2 separate regions of the Homo sapiens genome follow, and region 2 is linked to region 1. The links are contacts of gene promoters, found by promoter capture Hi-C in blood cells and fetal thymus (Javierre and others, 2016). All regions are on one chromosome and are shown on one strand. Each heading gives the region's core, a stretch centred on a gene start or on the middle of the fragment in contact. The rest is flanking DNA. Distances are from core to core; before and after follow the strand shown.

Region 1 (4,887 bases), core at 1,742-4,241:
GGAGAATTGCTTGAACCCGGGAGGCAGAGGTTGCAGTGAGCCGAGATTACACCACTGCACTCCAGCCTGGGTGACAGAGCGAGACTCTGTCTGAAAAAACAAACAAACAAACAAACAAACAAACAAAAAACAGCTCCAGAAGATGAGCCTCAAAGCCCCTGAATTTACTTCAGCACCACAGAAGTTTCATTCAAATGCTGCTCTCCCTGTTCATGGTGAGAACAGAGGCTGCCTAAAGCCCCTGTACCTAGTAGGCTGCAGCTTCTAGGGCCACAGCCACCAGTGTCTTCAGCCCTCCCAAATCTCCTTCCCCACCCCCCCGCCACACACACACACACCACACACTCTGTGCTTGATTATGTAAGAAATGTCTTAACTATTCACCCACTGGAAGATCTTTAATACAGCTTCCCACACTGTGTGCCATGGCCCTCTGCGTGCGGCAAACCCTCGATCTTCTAAAACTTGGGGCAGCCTGACCAGGCTGGTGAGGACAGTGCTCCAGGCTGGCTGCTGCAGCTAAGAGGCCTCAGGCAGTGGTTTCAAATCCTCTTATGTGCCTCAGGGTGTCACGCAGATATAATCATGTGGTATGTGCGCTAAGCCATGACAATGATTAGGAAGCTCTGCTGTAACTCTCACACAAGTGGATTTCCAGTTTTCTTGGGAGGATCACAGCATCTCCAGGTCTTGTGTTCCGTCATCCCCATGTCCAGCTTAGTGGTCCTTACTGAATTCCTCCCAAACTAACTTGGTGCAACTGGTCCCAAGGTATTTATGGCAAATGCCAGGAGACATAACAGCACAGTGAAGAAGGAATGCAGCCTATTCCCACAGAATTACTCAATGCCAAGGCAGACACTGAGAGTGCAACAGGTGTGAAAAGGAGGTTGCTGGGAGAGGCGGGTGGACCTGAAGAGGCTGCTCTGGGACTCCCAGGTACATGTGACAAAGCTGACCAGAGTGTATGGGTTAGGGAGCAGTGGGCTATGGAATGGAGGCTGTGGTTGTGAGCGGAGAAGTGACCGGCTGGCTGGAGATGGGCAGGTCAAGGTCATGAAGGCGGTCATCTAGGTGCGGGTGTCAGGTAATGAGTGCTCACCCCTTGGTGGGGGCTGGGAGGAGCTTTAAAGATGCAGCAGGCTGTGATGACCTGCCTGGATTCGAGGGGTGAAGGAGAGATGAGGCATCAGGATGGGGGTGGCCTCAGGATGCAGGGCTGGGGAGGGGATGAGCAGGTGTGCAGAGCCCAGTAGCACTCAGTCCACTGCCTACCTCATTCCATCTGCCTCCCAAAGCCCCAGGGTGGATGCTGCCTGCCTCCCTGTCCTCCCCAGGTGGGGCAAGATCATCTACCTTGGCAAGCACAGTGGAGCATCCAGACGGCCAGAGGTTCAGAAAGGGCTGCAGCAGACCGACTCGGTGACTGGCTCATGGGAGAGCAGCACAGCATCCCTGGTCCTGCAAATGCTTAAAACAGAGAGAATATGAGGGCAGGCAGATGCCCTGGTCTTGACTGCTGCCCGTTGAGAAAGGACAAGCTGGAGAAGGGCTGCGTGGTCCCTGGTCTCTCCAGGCCCTGAGGCAGTCTGCTAAGAACATATCTGGGATCCTGCCCCTCACCTCCCATAATGGAGAATAGGAACCCGGCCAGCACAGCCCTTTGCACAGAGCAGGTGCCCACTTTTGTTCCTTCCTCCTTTGTTCCCATGAAGTGCTCTCACTTCTGCGGGTCACTCAGAGCTCCCCAAGCAGCCCCAGGGAGCTTGCTAGGAGTGACTGACGGGAGACAGCATAGCACATCCCAGGTGGTGAGGATGCAGTCCCGGTGAAGGGAGTGGGGATCCTGGGATGATACGATGAATGGAAGGAAACTAACAGGAAAGGCATCTGGGACCAGGTTCTAGTTTTGGCTTTGCCAAGTCCCATAAACCTCTCTGAGCCTCAAACTCCTGCGGAGAAACAGAGCAACATCCCCTACTCTACCTCCCTACAGGGTTAGATCATGGGAGTGACCAGGCAAGCTGCAAAGTAACCTTAGCAAACTGCGTTCTTACATAGGTGTGGGGATCATTATTCCTATTTCCCAGCTTCCCTTCTTCAAATAACAGGATTAATCAATCTGGTTCCGGAATCATTCATATTTGAATAGAGGGCAGGAACAACAGAAAACTTAATTAGGAAGTCAAGCACTGTGAGCCAGTAAGAGGCAAGTGACTACCCGCCACAGAGACTGCTGTTACGAGTTCGGCCTTTAGCAGCCGAACCCTGAGACGGGCTCCATCACCCACATGATTGGCCCGAATGCCATATTCCCGAAACAGGGGGATGCTTCCCAAAGGCTGCTGGGAAGAGAACCTCGCCGGTGTCACACTGAGACTTCCGCTTCACCTCGCTATCTTGCCCTAGAAAGGGAACTCGGAGGGGACTCACTGACGAAAGGAGCTCCAGATGGCGGGGGGCCAACCTGGGGCGACCCCCAGCGCCCACTTTCACCATCTGGACCCCAGCAAACCTCCCTGTGGCCCTTGGTCCCGTCTTCAGCAGCTCCTTCTGGGGTCCCACACCTTCGGAGCCCGGCCCTGCCCCTGAGTCTCTGGAGAGAGCGAGTCAGCAGTTCGCCGCCGCGGGGCTCCCGTTTGCCTAGCACGCCAGTTTCTGTCCAGTTTCACCCCAAATCCCCACCTCCCCCCACCCCCGAACCTCACGGCCACCCTGGGAAGGAGGCTTGACTTGTGACATCCACCCCTCTTCACGGCTGAGGAACTTTGGCCCCGAGCGAGGAAGCGACCGGCCCACGGCCACACGCCCGGAGTGGGTGAGGCTAGGAGTGGGCCCGCTCCGGGACCCCTAGGGACCCTACCTCACTTCCGGGAGGGTTGAAGGGGGGCTCCGGAGGGAGGATCGCCGCCCCCAGAGGGGACAGCCCGGAGGCCCACGTACCGGATCGCGGCGCGCACAGCGCCCCGCCTGCAGGAGCCCGGGCGCGCTTCCGGGTAGGACCGCGTGATCGCGCACGTGACCGCCCGCCCCGGGAGGGGCCGGAGCCGCCGTCGCCTTCCGCGGGTTCGAGCCCCGCCCCTGCCAGGCCTTGCCCATGCCCCATTTTACAGAAGAGGAAACGGAGGCGCAGAGAGAAGAAATAACTTGCTGAGGGTCCGAACCAGGCTCAGAACCCAGGTTTCCTGGCTCCTCAGCTGATCCCTTCTCTCCTCCCCATGCCCCGGAACCTCAGGCTTTGCCTAATGAACTGAAGTTCTGGGGCTAGAGCTGTCCTTTTGTGACTGCTCTCCCTGACCTTTGGGGAGGTGACATAGCGCACAGAAGGGCTCAGTTGCCCCCAGAGTGCCAACGCTGGAATTTATAGGAGTTCTCAATCTATTTTGGGAGTGGAGTGCACATTAGGAGTTTTGTGTTGAACCTATGTTTGCAATATTTATTTTAAAAAATCGTATGTGTATTGGGGGTGCCTGGAAGTGGAGGGGGCGCTCTGGAAGGGCCTAAATCCCCGAACAGTCCACCCCTCAGTGCCTGGGTGCCACCTGGGAGCTTTGAGCCCAGCCCAGCAAGGTATGGGTTGCAAGAACTGGCTGGGGATATAGTAGATTGAGCATCTCTTGGGGGAAAGGCAGAGGCTAAGAATCAATACTTCCACCACCTGCAGATCAAAGAGAGCATCACTCCCCCCAACCCACTACCCACCCCTTCCAGCCCACCTTAGGGCAAATTCTTCCAACTCCCCATCTACAGCACATAGCCCTGCCACACGCATCTCTTTGCTCAGCCCACCGTTGAGATCGTTCACTCACTATGCTTTCAGTGGTCGAATGAATTCCATCAAATGGATATGCTGTTATTTACTTATTCATTCCCCTACTGGTAATTTCCATTTCCCAACTGCAATGTATGAGGATTCTGATTTCTCCACATCCTCACCAATGCTTGTTATTGTTGATTTTTTTTTTTTTAAGTATAGTAACCCAGCGTGGAGTGGTGTCTTGTGATTTTATTTGCACTTCCCTGACGTTCGGCATCTTTTCATGTGCTTTTTGCCTATTTGTGTACCTTCTCTGGAGAAATGTCTATTCAAATCCTTTATCCATTTTTAAATTGTCTTTATTATTGAGTTGTAAGAGTTCTTTATATGCTCTGGTTACAAGCCCCTTATCAGATACTTGATTTGCAAAAGTTTTTTTCCCATTATGTGGCTTGTCTTTTCACTTTCTTAGTGGTATCATTTGTAGCACCAAAGTTTTACATTTTTATGTAATCCAATATAATCTATTTTTTAGTTATGTACGGGTTTTTTGTGTCAACATGTTTCTTTTTTTCAAATTTGTTTGTGGTAAAATACATATAATGTAAAATTGATCATTAAGCATTTTAAGTGTATTGTTCAGTGGTATTAACTACATTCCTAATGCTATGCAGCCATCACCACCATCCATCTCCACAGCTCTTTTCATCTTTTAAAACTGAAACTATATCCATTAAGCAATAATGCTGGCCGGGTGTGGTGGCTCACACCTGTAATCCCAACACTTTGGGAGGTCAAGGCGGGCGGATCACAAAGTCAGGAGTTTGAGGTCACCCTAGCCAACATGGTGAAACCCTGTCTCTACTAAAAATACAAAATTAGCAGGGTGTGGTGGCACACAGCTGTAGTCCCAGTGACTCAGGAGGCTGAGTCAGGAGAATTGCTGGTACCAAGGAGGCAGAGGTTGCAGTGAGCCAAGATCATGCCACTGCACTCCAGCCTGGGCAACGGAGCGAGACTCCCATCTCAAAAACAACAACAAAAACAACAACAACAACAATTCTTCATTCCTCCTCATAGCAACCACAATGTTACTTTCTGTCTCTATGAATTTGACTACTCTAAGTACC
Region 2 (5,386 bases), core at 750-3,249, 910 kb after region 1:
GAATGACTTTTACCATAATTCTGACTCTAAATTCTTGCTCTTTCAATTAGTATATATTATATCAGCTAACATATACTTGCTAATATGTAAAAGTTCAAAGAAAAAAAACTAACTGGTTTTGAATATATTCAGTAACTTCCCTAAATAGAAACACAAATCTAGAAGAATAAGGTTTGCATTTATAAGCCCTTGCATTTATAAGCGCTTGCATAAAAACTTCATATTTTAAGGAGGTCCAGGGATGAGTGCAATCCTGAGATTGGTCAGACAGCAACTTTGTATCATTTTTCTCACAAAAAAAGATCTCTGAAAATGTCCCCGATACTTAACTGTGATTTCATTTGTTCTCTAGGAAAATCTCACCTGGCCATTGTCCAGCGGGTGAATAATGAGGGAGAAGGGGACCCTTTCTATGAGGTGATGGGCATTGTCACGCTGGAGGATATCATAGAGGAGATTATCAAGTCGGAGATCCTGGATGAAACTGATCTCTACAGTAAGTGCACGGCCTTGGCTGTTCTCCAGGGTCATCTTATTTTCCTCCAAGACTCTCAGGTAAAGCCTCATTTGATTTATAGAAAGGGTGTCAGGGCAAACCCTGTGCCCTGATGTGTGTCAGCCACCTATGCCAGGTGCTGCTGTGGCAAGATACCCTAGTTGGAATCACTTCTGAGTCACTGGGAACATGCTAGCTAAGTGTTTATCAGGAGGGAACCTTCAGGAACTGAGCCAAGACTATGAAAAGGAGACCTCCCAGCCTTTGGATAGAAACGGGACTACAGGAAACACAGTGTTCCCAGGACGGTGCCCAGAGGCCTCTCTGCCCTTGTTTCTGTCCCCTGTGTTCTTGTTTGGTTGCTTCATCCACCTAGATGCAGACCCCAACAGGGGTTCCACTCACATCAGAACATCGCAGTGAGCAGTGGAGACTGTCATGAGATTGCCTACTCACAGCCTAAGCCAAAAACTGAATACTCCTTCTTACAAACTTCCCTGTCCTCTTCTGCCTTTCAGCCCACCACCCTGGGTTTCTGTTCTCTCCCTGCCACCAGCATCCCTGCTCTTGTCTCTGCTTCCTTCTTTCTGGTCTGCTGCCCCTCCTAACTCCCTCACTCAGGAACAATACAGACTTTTCTATGCAGATGTGAGTACTTTGGGTTACTGAACCTTATCAAAGCTTTGCTTGCAAACATTACAAAGGCATGCTTTGTCTTTAGGATTGGAATGTTATCTAAGTCCATGGGAGTCCCTAGGCTGGGAAGTGTTTCCTCCTGAGAATTTCATCTCATGGAATAGCCATCCTTTTCTTCCTTGCAGATAACTCGTTTCAGACTTTGGTCCTTAGTTTGTGAGATGCGGCCTTTCAGAAACTGGCTCCTGGTAGAAAGAGCTTTGATACCATAAGGCAGTGAGCAGTGCAGAAAGAGTGCCTTCCTTTTAGACAAAGAAGAGATCAACTCTAAAAGGTGGGCCAGGCCTTGGCAAAGACAAGCAAGAGAGTCATGGCACCTCCCTCCAAGAGCCTGGGCACTGCTGTGCTTGCCCGGACCAGGCGTGTCTTCCTCACATGAGGAACGAGCTCGGAAATGTCCTCTCCCTCCCCCACCTCTGCCTGCCACTCTTGATTTAGAATTCTCAGGTGTAGCCTGGGCAACATGGTGAAACCCCATCTCTACAAAAAATACAACAGTTAGCCAGGCGTGGTGACGTGTGCCTGTAGTCCCAGCTACTTGAGAGGCCAAGGTGGGAGGATCACTTGAGCCTGGGAGGTCCTGGCTGCAGTGAGTGGAGATTGTGCCACAGCACTCCAGCATGGGAGCCTGGGTGACAGGGCAAGACTGTCTCAAAAAAAAAAAAAAAAAAAAAAAAAAAAAAAAAATCCCAGGTGTCTCAGATAAACTAGTGAAGCCATTCACACTAAGGTGTTAGGTACTGATAATAGTCTAAATGAGTAAGCTCCTCCCAGGGCACTTGTTTGAACAACCTTAAGGCTTCCAACACACACTATTGAAATCTAAGGAGAAGGGGGCGATGAGAGGAATGATTTCCTAATAATGCCATGTTAAGTGGCAATCTGATGGGGGAGAGGGGGGCTATTTAGGCAAACTTATCATACAAATCAGAAAGTTGCTCACTAGTGAGAGCGAAAGAGCTGGGCTAATAGCCTGTATTTTGCTACTCTTTTGCTGAGTGATCCTCTTTCTACAGGAGCAGGTTAGGGTCTTTCTACCTATAAATAGCTGCTGGCATGATTCCCTAAGAGCTATGAAAAGGCCCAGAAGCCAGGGATACTGTCTTTCTTCTTGCATGACCCTGACCTCTTACGTGATCTGGACACCTGGGTCTGGGTCTGCCCATTGTGACTTGAGCAAAAGGAGTGTCAAAGCAGGGGCCAGATGACTGTGAAGGCCCAGAGTCAGAGCGGGCCATGGAAGAGCTGCACCGGCAGGAGGGCACTTTGACCCTTCTAGAAGGAAACCCAAAAGCAGGCCCCAAAAGGAGAGGGGGCACACCAGGGAGCCGGATTCTGGGGCCTTATTTTCCTGCCACAGGGGTTCATTCCCTTTCATTCTCACTGCATCCACTCAGCTTGCACCAGACGTTCCCCCACAGCCCTGTTTCTCTTTAGGCGAAGTTTGGAGAAAACCCAAATCCCTCTCCCTGTTCCCCTTAGTGCAGGTAAGATGGGCTAGCAGTTTCAAAATTTTACTCAAAACTCAGGGAAAGCAAAAGAGAAAGAACCAAAGAAAACATTTCCTCTACCAAAAAAAAAAAAACAAAAAAAAAAGCGGGGGCCGGGGGGGAAGTAGATATATTTAGACAAGCTTTAAAAAGAATGAGAACAAATTAAATTGGAAAAAGCAAATGTTTTCAACCAATAATTACATGCCTGATACATAGGCTCTTGGGAGGTACCAGACCCTGCCTGAGGCCCCCATCCAGAAAACCCACCTTTAGAGATTATAGGTCCAATCTTATTTCTTCTCCTCTCTTCTTCCCTATATTTCCCCTGATTCCCTCCCAGTGGAGGGACTGGGGTTGAAGCAGGGAAATTGTGAAATAAGAGGTGGTGGCCGCCCTCCTTCCTTGTGTGGCATGCTTCAGGTACCACTCAGAGCATGGTTCACATAAGCAGCAGGAGACTAGGTGAGGCCAGTTCAGGGCAAAGGAGGGGGACAGAGTCAGAAATTCCCTGGGCCCCTGCAACCCTCTTGATACTAAGAATGCAGGTCCCTTGTGTGTGTATGACTTTGGGTAAAAGCATTCTCACAGGTAGTTTCCAGTTGGAGTCTCATAATTAATTGCACAAGATGAGTATGAGAGCTATATTAAATATTATTAGCCTCCTTGTACAGATTAAAATAAAAACTCTAATGCTTAGAGAGATTACATGGTAAGTAGGGGAACCAGCCCCAGAACCCCAGACTTGGGTACCCCAAGCCTGCTTTCCCCTTTTTCTACTATACACCCCCTAAGTGTGGAAAACACTGAAATGATGGCAGTCTCCCATTGTCTATCCCTCACCAACATCCTTCTACTTCCTGGGTGATATTGTGATGTCACCCATAGTTGACACTGCAGAAATGTTCTATCTGTCCCCTGTGATTCTGGGAAAACCTCCAAAGATCAACGTGATTCTGAGATAGCTGTAATCTGTCCTCTGTGACCCCACAGCTGACAATCGGAAAAAGCAGAGGGTCCCGCAACGGGAGCGGAAGCGGCATGACTTCTCCTTGTTTAAGCTTTCGGACACGGAGATGCGGGTGAAGATCTCACCACAGCTTCTGCTAGCCACACACCGCTTCATGGCCACAGGTAGGACAAGTCTCCACTCCAGAGAAGCTAAAACAGAATCTCTAGGGTGGGACCCAGGCACCAATCGTTGTTAATACCTTCCAGCCTGATTCCAGTGTGCTGTCAGGACTGAGAAGCACTGTTCTAGGAAGGAGGTTGCCTTAGACAGGGTAATGGATGCCACCTACTGTCGTATTGAGCCCCAGGCCTGATCTCATAGAGGAAGAAATGAGTATAACTCAACTCTTCTACCAGAGAAAAGAGCTAAAGAAACCATTGCTGCACTTTTCCCTCTTCTACTCACTTCCTCGCTGAAGCCCGAGGCCATCTCCCTGTCTGTTAGACTTGCAGTGCCCTAGAGCAGTGCCACAGAAGCCTGTGAGCTATGAATTTTTAAAATACAGAAGTGTATTGTGAATCTTGGGATCTTTAGAAAGAAAAAAAAGTGAGAAAATCCAAAGATAAACTCCTTCTTGTGAAGAAGATAAAGTTTGTCTTTGAACCCTCTGACCATCCATGCCTAATTAATGTGCTGACCTAGAATGATCATATCTATCACTAACTTCAATATTTAATTAATCCAACATATATTTATTGAGTATGTAATGAGTGCTAGCACTGTTTTAGGTGCTAAAGAGTAGAAAATTTTAAGTTGGAGCTGCTTTAAGATAGAATTTCTAGTTCTGAGTACAGATTTCTTTTAACTACTTCCCAGAGCCTATGTTATATAAGTAATATAAGTTTAACATATGTAATATAAGCAATAGCTGTAATATATAAATATGATGCAATGATGCCTCACATTATTGACAACTTATTATTTAAATAATTGCCTGTCTTTAGTAACATGGGATTTCATTTCATTCAGCAGATATATGTCATACAAATAAGCCAGATTAAATTATCTGCATTTCATTCAATTATAGCATTAAAGTCTTTGTTGTTTATGTGGCTTAGTTGTCCATGTCCAATTTTAAATAAAATCAAAGAAAATTAATAATGAAACAGACATTTCCAAATGGAGACCTGTTTCTCCTGAGATGCCAGTGCAGGGACACACATCTCCAGAGGACGTGGGTAAGGCCCTGAGATGCACACTTGGGATTAGGATCCTCCACTCCGGAGGAACTGCAGAAGCCCTGCCAACCTGATGCCCAGGTACAGGCACAGGGGTCCCAGTTGTGCCCACTCTGACTCCTCCCAGCTGCCACTGCTGGAATGGGTGGGACACAGCTGATGCTGATTCCTCCCTTCCCACTCACTCTCCTCTAGAAGTGGAGCCCTTTAAGTCTCTGTACCTTTCGGAGAAGATCCTGCTCCGGCTCCTGAAACATCCCAACGTGATCCAGGAGCTGAAGTTTGATGAGAAGAACAAGAAGGCCCCGGAACACTACCTCTACCAGCGCAACCGCCCTGTGGACTACTTTGTGCTGCTTCTACAGGTGAGTAGGAAAGTCAGGGAACCTCTGAGAGCCAGAGGAGGGCATCTCCAGGGTGAAGAAATGGCCATGCCTCCGTCAGCACCAAGTTCCAAGACTTGGCTGGCTGCCTCAGCAACAAGGCCAGCTGGGTGGACATTTCTTCATGACCC

Evidence for each region. Contacts are between HindIII fragments. The CHiCAGO score rates a contact against its expected background, and 5 or more counts as called.
Region 2: a contact is called between a fragment that was not itself captured here and the fragment with the promoter of HPS1 in region 1, in 1 of 17 cell types (M1 macrophages). The highest score is 6.2, in M1 macrophages.

Annotation. Positions count from the first base shown.
Region 1 is chr10:98,443,944-98,448,830 of GRCh38, forward strand. HPS1 (HPS1 biogenesis of lysosomal organelles complex 3 subunit 1) reads right to left here and starts at 2,992. Exons shown (of 20, transcript NM_000195.5): 1 at 2,864-2,992; 2 at 1,357-1,461. It overlaps HPS1-AS1 (HPS1 antisense RNA 1), which reads left to right and starts at 2,378. Exons shown (of 3, transcript NR_134454.1): 1 at 2,378-2,814. RefSeq lists a silencer at 2,810-3,159. The HindIII fragment of the contact is 10,907 bases long and covers 1-4,887 here.
Region 2 is chr10:99,357,160-99,362,545 of GRCh38, forward strand. It overlaps CNNM1 (cyclin and CBS domain divalent metal cation transport mediator 1), which reads left to right. Exons shown (of 11, transcript NM_020348.3): 2 at 353-496; 3 at 3,676-3,816; 4 at 5,068-5,237. Among named protein-coding and RNA genes, the nearest start is that of CNNM1, 30 kb to the left of the region's middle. RefSeq lists enhancers at 803-1,470, 1,471-2,137. The HindIII fragment of the contact is 1,648 bases long and covers 1,176-2,823 here.